Linked DNA regions of Homo sapiens: regions 1 and 3 are each linked to region 2. Evidence: promoter capture Hi-C in human tissues and cell types (Jung and others, 2019). All regions are on one chromosome and are shown on one strand. The core of a region is centred on a gene start or on the middle of the fragment in contact, and the rest is flanking DNA. Distances in the headings are between cores, read along the strand shown. Region 1 has its middle 7.7 kb from the start of ZNF710. Region 2 holds the start of TICRR (TOPBP1 interacting checkpoint and replication regulator). Region 3 overlaps ARPIN-AP3S2 (ARPIN-AP3S2 readthrough).

Region 1 (3,462 bases), core at 686-3,185, 420 kb after region 2:
CATGTTCGTCAGGCTGGTCTCGAGCTCCTGATCTCGTGATCTGCCCGCCTTGGCCTCCCAGAGTGCTGGGATTACAGGCGTGAGACACCGTGCCCGGCCTAAACATCACCTCTTACAGGAAGGTCTCCTTCCTACAGAGAAGAGCTGAGAGGATACACCTCTTCTGCTACTGTATAAGTCAGTGTACATCTGTCATCCTTGGTTGCCTGGGAGACCCTTGATGGTGGCCAGTACATCGTCAGGTCACAACAAATGTTTGTTGATTGAATGAAGAATAAAAGCAAAGGAAGGGGACAAAAAGAGAATTCATGTCTGAAGATTCAACATGGCAAAACCCTCACCCTACAGCATTCCTCTCCGCCCTCTGCCCAGATGGTGCTGCTGCTGCATAGCCAGGCATTCTATACCTCCATTTCTCACTTAAGAAAATATCTCCAGCCTGGGCAACAAGTGAGATCCTGTCTCTACAAAAAATAAAAAATTAGCTGGGCGTGCACCTGCAGTCCCAACTACTGAGGAGTCTGATATGGCAGGATGGCTTGAGCCCAGGAGGTCGAGACTGCAATAAGCTGTGATTGCACCACTGCACTTCAGCCTGGGAGACGGAGTGAGACCATGTCCCCCCAAAAAAGGCTAAATTCCCCTCCTGTCTTGCCCATCATCACAGCTTCACAGTCTTTCAGACTGTTTTATTAATGCCTTAAAAGAAATCATGGGAGTGATTCCTGATGTTACATGTTCATTCATTCGTGCATTCTTTTTTTTTTTTTTTTTAAATGGAGTCTCACTCTATCCTCCAGGCTGGAGTGCAGTGGTACGATCTCAGTTCACTGCAACCTCCGCCTCCTGAGTTCAAGTGATTCTCCTGCCTCAGCCTCCTGAGTGGCTGGGATTACAGACGCACGCCACCACGCCTGGCTAATTTTTGTATTTTTAGTGGAGACGGGGTTTCACCACGTTGGTCAGGCTGGTCTCGAACTCCTGACCTTGTGATCTGCCTGCCTCGGCCTCCCAAAGTGCTGGGATCACAGGTGTGAGCCACTGCACCCAGCCTTTATTCATGTATCACGTGTTCTTTTTTTTTTTTTTTTTTTTCGAGACAGAGTCTCGCTATGTTGCCCAGGCTGGAGTGCAGTAGCGTGATCTCGGCTCACTGCAAGCTCCACCTCCCGGGTACACGCCATTCTCCTGCCTCAGCCTCCCGAGTAGCTGGGACTACAGGTGCCCACCACCATGCCTGGCTAATTTTTTGTATTTTTAGTAGAGACAAGGTTTCACCATGTTAGCCAGGATGGTCTCGATCTCCGGACCTTGTGATCCACCCGCCTCGGCCTCTCAAAGTGCTGGGATCACAGGTGTGAGCCACATTCATGTATTCTTATGGGCAATAAACATTTACTGAACTCCTGTCATGAATGTGATGCCAGCTACCAGGCTGGCCCTGGACACCAAGACCCATGTGCAGTGTGGGGAGGACAACTTGGAGGGACTTTTGGGCAGCCCTGAAGTCCACCCACAGGATAAGTGCTTCCAGGCCTCTCAGGGATCTGCCTGGCCCTGCCCCCTCCTTCCCCATCCTCCTCATTCCCACCCTACACCCTCTTTATCTCCCTTCACAAAAAGCTCTATTCTCTTTTTGCACAATACACTTTCACAATAGATAGTCTATTCAACCCAGAGCCCAAATCATCAGCAACCAAAACGCTGGTTCCTCTTTCCTCCTAGGTTTCAAACATTTCCAAGGGAGGAGAAATAATTGCACTCTGCAGCATCACTTCTGTTTGCATGGCTGTTTCTCCTGAAGATTGGAAGCTCCTTGAAGGCCTGGCCTAGGTCTTCTCACCATTGACTCTGAAGTGAACCATAAGCCTAGACCTTGTTTCCTAAATATATAATTTATTGTTCAAAATTAATATAATCATTCTTACCACAGAAACAAACAATCAAACAAACAAAACGAACAACAAAGGGGTTCAAGGAAACTTTTGGAGGTGATGGATATACTAACTGTGGTGACTGTCACAGGAGTATATACATACGTCCAAACTCACAGATTGTATATATTAATTATGTGTATTTTTTTATGCCAATTATACCTTAATAATCCAGGAGAGGAAAAATGAAAAATAAATACACCTTGCTCAAGAAAGAGAAAAAATATATAATAATTATAGAAATTTGGCAAATAGGGCCAGCCGTGATAGCTCATGCCTATAATCCCAGCACTTTGGGAGGCCAAGGCAGGAGGACTGCTGGAGCCCAGGAGTTCAAGGCTGCAGTGAGCCAGGATTGTGTCACTGCACTACAGCCTGGGTGACAGAGCAATACCCTGTCTCTAAAAACGAAAGAAAGAAAAAGAAAGGAAGGAAGGAGAGAGAAAAGAAAGAAAAAGAAAGAAGGAAGGAAGGAAGAAAAAGAAACAAAAAAGAAGTTGGGCAAGTACACTAAGGGATAAAGAAGAAAATTAAATCACCTATAATTTCAAGAAACAGAAATAACTTTTTTTTTTTTTTTTTTTTTAGATAGAGTCTCACTCTGTCACCCAGGCTGGAGTGTAATGGCGTGATCTCGGCTCACCACAACCTCTGCCTCCTGGGTTCAAGTGATTCTCCTGCCTCAGCCTCCTGAGTAGCTGGGATAACAGGCATGCACCACCACACCTGGCTAATTTTTCGTATTTTTAGTAGAGATGAGGTTTCACCATGTTGGCCAGGCTGGTTTCAAACTCCTGACCTCACGTGATCTGCCCACCTTGGCATCCCAAAGTGCTGGGATTACAGGTGTAAGCCACTGAGCCCAGCCAGAAATAACTTTTTAAAAACTTGTATATTTTCTTCCAGGCATTTTACATGCATTTTTCCGGATAAGTATACATGTATATACCAAATTTTAAATATATATAATTCTGATGCATATGCAATTTTATATTTCACTCAGCATATTACAAACACTTCCCAAGTCATTATTCTTCAAAAACATGATTTTTAATAGCTTATATAGTATTACATCAGATGTTCATGCCATAACTTCTTTAAACATTTCCATCATTTTTGGATATTTAGATTATTTCCTTCTTTCTTTCCTTCTTTTTTCCTATTTTTAACTTTTGCCAATATAAATAATACTTTCATAAACATGCTTAACACATCTTTGTTCACATTGCTGATTATTTCTCTCAAGAACAGATTTCTAGAATTCGAGTTACTGAATCAAAGGGTATAAATTTTTAAGCTTCTCTTGATCTTTCATATCCAATTATTTTCCAGGCTTTGTACCAATTTGCCCTCCTGTAGCCATAAGTATCATCACTGTGGCTTTTACATTTAATTTATTTGTAACTCTTCGGTGAAGCTGGCAGTTGTAATGACCCATGTTTCTTTTGGCATATTTCTATTCTTAAATTTATGTGTATAGGATTAATTAACTAATTGGTTCAAGCCATGATGGGAATAAAGCCATGTA
Region 2 (3,401 bases), core at 492-2,991:
ATGAGGCAGTAATTGCTGAGGACTTTGATTGGAGAAGCCAAGGCACATAAAGGAAGTTGTAGCCAAAGCATATAAAGGAAGTTGTTCTGTTTCCAGGTGGAAACAGAATTACTTAGCAAGCAGAATTCAATGGTGTGGAGTATTGGATCAATCTCCCTAAACACATATTCAGGTAACCGACCTTCATTTTTTGTCCCCTTCTTCTTTCCAAATACCATATTCCACTGATCCTAGAGGCACATCTCACATCTCTGAAATCAGCCTGTTCACTGGTGTCCAGCAAGAGGAAGTGTAAAAAAGTTTCAAAAAAAATCACATGGAGAGACCATCACAGACAACTTCCGGTACACAATATTATATTAACAGTTTAAAAATATGCATATAAATGCATTTCTATCTATATATAACTTCTATCTATGATTATCTATCTATATATAATTCCTTTTTTTTTTGTTTTGTTTTTTTTTTTTTAGTAGAGACAGGGTTTCACTGTGTTAGCCAGGATGGTCTCGATCTCCTGACCTGGTGATTCGCCCGCCTCGGCCTCCCAAAGTGCTGGGATTACAGGCGTGAGCCACCGTGCCCGGCCTATCTATATATAATTCTATGTATTCTATCTATATAGCGATATATAATTTCTATCTGTAATGCAAATCTACATGTGATTTCTATCTATATATACATGTAGATAGAAAATTTAGGGAATTCACTGCAGGTGCTGCTTGCAGTCCACTTTTAAAACCTAACATTACATAATAAAACACTATTTTAAGAAGCTGCACTAGGCCGGGCTTGGTGGCTCACGCCTGTAATCCCAGCACTTTGGGAGGCCAAGTCGGGTGGATCACAAGGTCAGGAGTTTGAGACCAGCCTGGCCAACATGGTGAAACTCCGTCTTTACTAAAAATACAAAAATTAGTCTGGGGTGGTGGCGTGCGCCTGTAGTCCTATTCAGGAGGCTGAGGCAGGAGGATCGCTTGAACCCGGGAGGTGGAGGTTGCAGTGAGCCAAGATCGTGTCAATGCACTCCAGCCTAGGAGACAGAGCGAGACTCCGTTTCAAAAAAAAAAAAAAAAAAAAAAAAAAAAAAAAAGGAGCTGCACGATGCTCCCCTTGGGCGTGTACCATACCTTATTTAACCATTCCCAAACTGTTTCCATTTTTTCTGATGTTAAATAAACTCTAAGATGTACAGACGTCTTTTATCTGGCTCTCCGATTACCTTCTGCAGATAAACTCCTAGAAGTTACTGGGGCAAAGGGAGTGAACCTTTAATTTTTAATAAAATTTTTTAAATTACAGAAAAAGCCGTAGTCGTCAGATTCTACTTCCTAGGCGGTCCACAGGGATTTCAACAAGTTCGATTCAAACCATCCCAAATTCCCTCCCGGCACTAAGTTTTCCTCGGTCTTGGGAAACGTGGCCCCGCAGTCCGCACTCACGACTGCGCACAAACGCTGGCCTCTTTCCAATGGCGAAACTTCTCGACACGCCCCCGAGGCACCACCTCTTTAAAATTTAAAACGAAGGCCCAGGCCAATGAATGCTAAGCTTCTCTCGGACCACAGAGACCCGCCCACCGTCACTCCCTCCACCAATCAGACTGAAGTTTTCTCCACTGCCCCTCCAATCACCGCCAAAAATGGAAGTTGCTCTCGTAACTTACGTAAGGCAAGCAGCCAATAGGAGCAAACCTTGGAAACTAGCTCCCCCAATAGCAGCAGTTCCTGGAGAGCGCGGGAGCCTTTCGACCAGGGTCCCAAAGGAAAGCAGTGAGTGGTGCTGTTTCCCTGAAGGAAGGGACTAAGGGACGGTGGCGCGGGCCCGGACCGGGGCCCCGGGGCGGCGGCACGGCCGATATGGCATGCTGTCACAAAGTAATGCTGCTGCTGGACACCGCGGGCGGCGCCGCCCGCCACAGCCGGGTCCGGCGGGCCGCCCTGCGCCTCCTCACCTATCTGAGTTGCCGATTCGGCCTGGCCAGGGTCCACTGGGCCTTCAAGTTCTTTGACTCGCAGGGGGCGCGGAGCCGGCCGTCCCGCGTGTCTGACTTCCGCGAGCTGGGGTCCCGCTCGTGGGAGGACTTTGAGGAGGAGCTGGAGGCCAGGCTCGAGGATCGCGCCCACCTGCCCGGCCCGGCGCCCAGGGCCACCCACACGCACGGCGCCCTGATGGAGACGCTGCTAGACTACCAGTGGGACCGGCCCGAGATCACGTCGCCCACGAAGCCGATCCTGCGGAGCAGCGGGAGGAGACTGCTGGACGTGGAGAGCGAGGCCAAGGAGGCCGAGGCCGCGCTCGGGGGCTTGGTGAACGCCGTCTTCCTCCTGGCCCCCTGTCCGCACTCGCAGAGGGAGCTGCTGCAGTTCGTGTCTGGGTGCGAGGCCCAGGCCCAGCGCCTGCCGCCCACCCCTAAGCAGGTGATGGAGAAGTTGTTGCCCAAGAGAGTCCGGGAAGTCATGGTCGCCCGAAAAATCACCTTCTACTGGGTGGATACCACCGAATGGTCTAAGGTAAGGAAGGTTACTGTCGTCTCAGATGGCGTGCACGGTGCTTTCCTTGCTAACCAGAACTTGGCAGCGTCCTTAGAACAGCCACAGACCCCGAATGAGACTAATATGACTATGCGTCCCTTCGGAAGGAAACAAATAAATAGGAACAGTTTTCACAACAAAATGGGTAGTTCCTCACTACCTACTGTTTAAGACCCCTCACAATTTGGGCCCTACCTGCCTTCCCAGACTTGATTTTCCTACACACTACATCTACTCTAGCATATTGAAGTCCAGTCCAGAAAATCAACAGGTCTGGACTGCTTGTTTTGTGTTATGTGTGTTGTTCAATCTGCCTGGAATGCCAGTTCTCACTCTTCCAGGCCAGTCTTAACTTCACTTACCCTTTAAGGCTTCTTCTCCCAGTGACAACTGCTCAGTCCAGCGTCTGAATTGCCATACACATTTTGTGTGGCACTTAACCATTTCTCCATATGTTTTGATTATGCACATCTCTCACCCTCCATCTAGTCTAAAAATACCTCAGAGGCAAGCAGCAGGTTTTAACACAATACCCAGGGGTGTGTGTGTATGTGTGTGTGTATATATATATATATATATATATATATATATATATATATACACACACACACATATATATACACATTTATTTATATACATATATATATTTATTTATTATTATTTTTTGAGACAGTGTATGTCGCCCAGGCTGGAATGCAGTGGCTCACTGCAACCTCCACCCCTCCGGGTTCAAGCGATTCTCATGCCTCAGCCTCCCAAGTAGCTGAGACTACAGGCCCACGCCACCATGCCTGGCTAATTTTTTTGTATTTTCAGTGGAGACCAGGTTCCATGCTGCCCAGGCTGGTCTCAAACTCTGGCCTCAGG
Region 3 (3,541 bases), core at 217-2,716, 300 kb after region 2:
CTATAGAATATCACCTGACCTTGAATTACATTACAGATCTCTTAGTCACTATATTACTCTTTAGGAAAGATATAAATTTTACTATCTAAGTCAAAGCCCCTGCGTCATGATTATTCCAAAGTTTCATTGTCACTGGCCTATGACTAGGAAACTAATTTTATAATCAGCATAAAACTATTTATCTCACCTTTGGCCAAGTAGCCAGTGACATCATTCTCCTATATCAAGAAATCAGTCTGTGAACAGATGAACCACGATATAGGCCTAGTAATAATCTTATGCACGTTAAAACTGTTAGTAGATCTTAGCAAAAACAAAACAAAACCCAAACTATTAAATCTATTAAATAAAACATGTTCTAGGACTATCTTAAGAGTAAAAAAAAACAAGAAACAATATGAAGATGTAGAGGTGGCTACAGATGCCCAAGGCTCTTGGTTTTCTAGTAACCCTAGTTTGGAAGAGAACTGCAAGAGAATATACCTTATCCATATGGAAGATCAAATCCAATTCACACACATTTTCGAAACACTTATCCAGAGTTTCCACAAAAACCTAGAAAACAAGGAGAAATAGATAAAGAAGAGAAATAGGAACACATTCACAGCTTTATCAATGTCACATCTGAAAGTAAAAGGGGCTGTCACAATACTATTTACTTTATGATAAATCTCAAAAATTAAAACACCTACCTTTTGTCTCCAGCATTAGCTGATCACCCTACTTATCTCGATTTAGAGGGAATAATCTAGGACAGGAAAACCTTGTTTTCAGCATAGCAACACAACCAGCAGACACATGTGGCTCTTTCCCCCTTTATAAGATGCTAATTTATGGTAGGGCATGGTGGCTCATACTTACAATCTCAGCACTTTGAGAGCCCAAGGCAGGAGGATCACTTGAGGCCAAGAGCTCACGACCAGCCTTGCTAACAAGACGAAAACCCATCTCTACTAAAAATACAAAAATTATCTGGGTGTGGCGACACGAGCCTGTTATAGTCCCAGCTACTTGGGAGGCTGAGGCACGAGAATAGCTTGAATGAGAATCATTTGAGGTGGAGGTTGCCATAAGCAGAGATCGCACCACTGCACTCCAGCCTGAGTGACAGAGTGAGAGTCTCTCAAAAAAAAAAAAAGAAAAAAGAAAAAAAATTACATAAAAGAATAACAAATTAAAAAAACCAACTACTTACAATACTATGTCCTCAATGAATACATGTACAAAAAATTTTTCATTATTACAGGGTTAACATAGCTGTGTTTTAATTTCAGCCAAAATTAACTTCAAAACATCTTCCCTTTTTAATTTTTTTGGTCAGTTATTTAGCCTACAAAATACCTTCCTATGAATAAATTTAATTGACGTGTTTACAACTTAAAATTTTTTTTTAAAAGCCCTGAGCTTACTTCTCTATAGAACCTTTTAACTTTTAATAAAACATAACAGAAAAGTGTACAAATGACAAGGGCACAGTTTAATGAATTTTCAGAATGAACACACCATGTAACTACAACCTAGGTATCTATCTATAACTGTTTAATTTCTCTCAGACAATGACCTCATTTAAACAATCTCATTGTCAGCAGTGTCATGAATTGTTCGGCACTGCATGAAAATGGGTCTTACTTGAGGCCAGCAAGTGACAGAGACCAGGCACACCGTTCCACTGTAGCACAAGATGGGTGCTCATAGGCAAACCACCCTGCAGCGGCTGCTGGGGAGACAGACCCACTTGCCATGAGGAACCAACGCACACTATTGGAGCTGATCCTGCTCTGTCTCTTCTCTATGTAAGTAAAGCTTTATCCAGTGTTTGCACTTTTTCCTTGCCGACTCTGATACCAAGATGCAATGGGCAAGAGCATTTAGATTCCTTTCTTGAGACTGGTAACCAGTGCACTGTATTTTGCCAGATACCAACCATTTTGGAAAACTATGACATTATGTATGCATGCTCTATGATCTAGGAATTCTACTCCCAGATAACATATCTAACAGATATATACATGTATGCCAAAAACCACATACAATAATTTCATATTAGTGCCATTCATAAATCTTTACATTTTTAACAGTGCCAGAATATTTCACTATAAGGACACATAGTTAAATGGGTCTATTTCTCAATCACTATGCTGGGTACTTGGTAAGCCCTTATAATCCTGCAGTTCAAGTCCTTCAGTTCTGGGAAATTTTATCGAATTATTTTGTTGAGAATTCCCTCCTTTCCACATTCCTAATCAATCTTTTTGGAGCTGCTTATATTCAAGTATTGGACCTCTGTCTGTCTTCTTTTTTTTTTTTTTTTGAGACAGACTCTCGCTCTGTTGTCCACGCTGAAGTGCAGTGCCACGATCTTGGCTCACTGCAGCCTCTGCCTCCTGGGTTCAAGCAATTCTCCTGCCTCAGCCTCCTGAGTAGCTGGGATTACAGGCATGCACCACCACGCCTGGCTAATTTTTGTATTTTTAGTAGAGACGAGGTTTCACCATGTTGGCCAGGCTGATATCCAATTCCTGACCTTAAGTGATCCCCCTGTCTTGGCCTACCAAAGTGCTGGGGTTACAGACGTGAGCCACTGTGCCCGGCCTCTGTCTTATTTTCTCATCTTTTCTCTCCCATTTTCCATCTCTGCCCATTCTGAGACAATTGATTAACTTGATTTTCTAATACTTCAGTTGAAGTGGGTTTTTGTTTGTTTCCATTTCCTCTCATTTTTTATTTCTAAGAGACCATTTTGTTCATTTTGTGTGAGCAACAAGGCTGTGAGTGTTTTTGTTTAGCACCCATTTAGCAATAAGACATAAATGGGTCTTATTTTATTTCTAATTAATAAATGGGTCTTATTATTATTTAAAATAAATGTCTTATTTCTCTGTGGCTTTTTTTTTTTTTTTTTTTTTTGAGACAAGGTCTCACTCTGTCACCCAGGCTGGAGTGCTGTGGTGTGATCTCAGAACACTGCAGCCTCAGCCTCCCGGGTGCAGGTGATTCTCCTGCCTCAGCCTCCTGAGCAGCTGGGACTACAGGTATGTGCCACCATGCCTGGCTAAAATACTTCGTATTTTTAGTAGAGATAGGGTTTCACCATGTTGGCCAGGCTTTCTCTGTAGCTTAAGAATAGGGTTTTGGGTTTTTTTTTTTTTTAAACTGTTTTCCTTTCTTTATATGGTGTCCATTTTTAAGTTGCTTTTTATTGTTTGTTCATTTTATCTCCTTCTTCTATGTTAGAGGTTTTCCGCAGATGTCTGATAATCCTTTGTTTTTCATTTGTTACAAGAATAAAAGGCTGATTGAAAGCTCTACAATCATGGATATTTCTTGCCCACCTCCATGGTTATTTGCTTCCCTAGCGAAATCTGTCTCACGTGTCCATGTGAAGAGACCACCAAACAGGCTTTGTGTGAGAAACAAGGCTGTTTATTTCACCTGGGTGCAGTCTTTCTAGGTATCAAAATTCATTGTAAAGCTTTGTTAACTAAAATAGTATAATACTAAGGCTGGGTGAGGTGGCTCATGCCTATAATCCCAACACTTT

The links. Contacts are between HindIII fragments. The study calls those that stand out against the background at their distance.
Region 1: a contact is called between a fragment that was not itself captured here and the fragment with the promoter of TICRR in region 2, in 1 of the 25 tissues and cell types used here (hippocampus).
Region 3: a contact is called between a fragment that was not itself captured here and the fragment with the promoter of TICRR in region 2, in 2 of the 25 tissues and cell types used here (hippocampus and liver).

What each region holds. Positions count from the first base shown.
Region 1 is chr15:89,991,934-89,995,395 of GRCh38, forward strand. No RefSeq gene overlaps it. Among named protein-coding and RNA genes, the nearest start is that of ZNF710, 7.7 kb to the right of the region's middle. The HindIII fragment of the contact is 5,795 bases long and covers 1-3,462 here.
Region 2 is chr15:89,573,728-89,577,128 of GRCh38, forward strand. TICRR (TOPBP1 interacting checkpoint and replication regulator) reads left to right here and starts at 1,742. Exons shown (of 22, transcript NM_152259.4): 1 at 1,742-2,513. The coding sequence starts at 1,860. RefSeq lists a silencer at 1,730-2,019 and an enhancer at 2,141-2,669. The HindIII fragment of the contact is 16,704 bases long and covers 1-3,401 here.
Region 3 is chr15:89,870,992-89,874,532 of GRCh38, forward strand. It overlaps ARPIN-AP3S2 (ARPIN-AP3S2 readthrough), which reads right to left. Exons shown (of 10, transcript NM_001199058.2): 8 at 484-555. It overlaps AP3S2 (adaptor related protein complex 3 subunit sigma 2), which reads right to left. Exons shown (of 6, transcript NM_005829.5): 4 at 484-555. Among named protein-coding and RNA genes, the nearest start is that of MIR5009, 11 kb to the right of the region's middle. The HindIII fragment of the contact is 7,631 bases long and covers 1-3,541 here.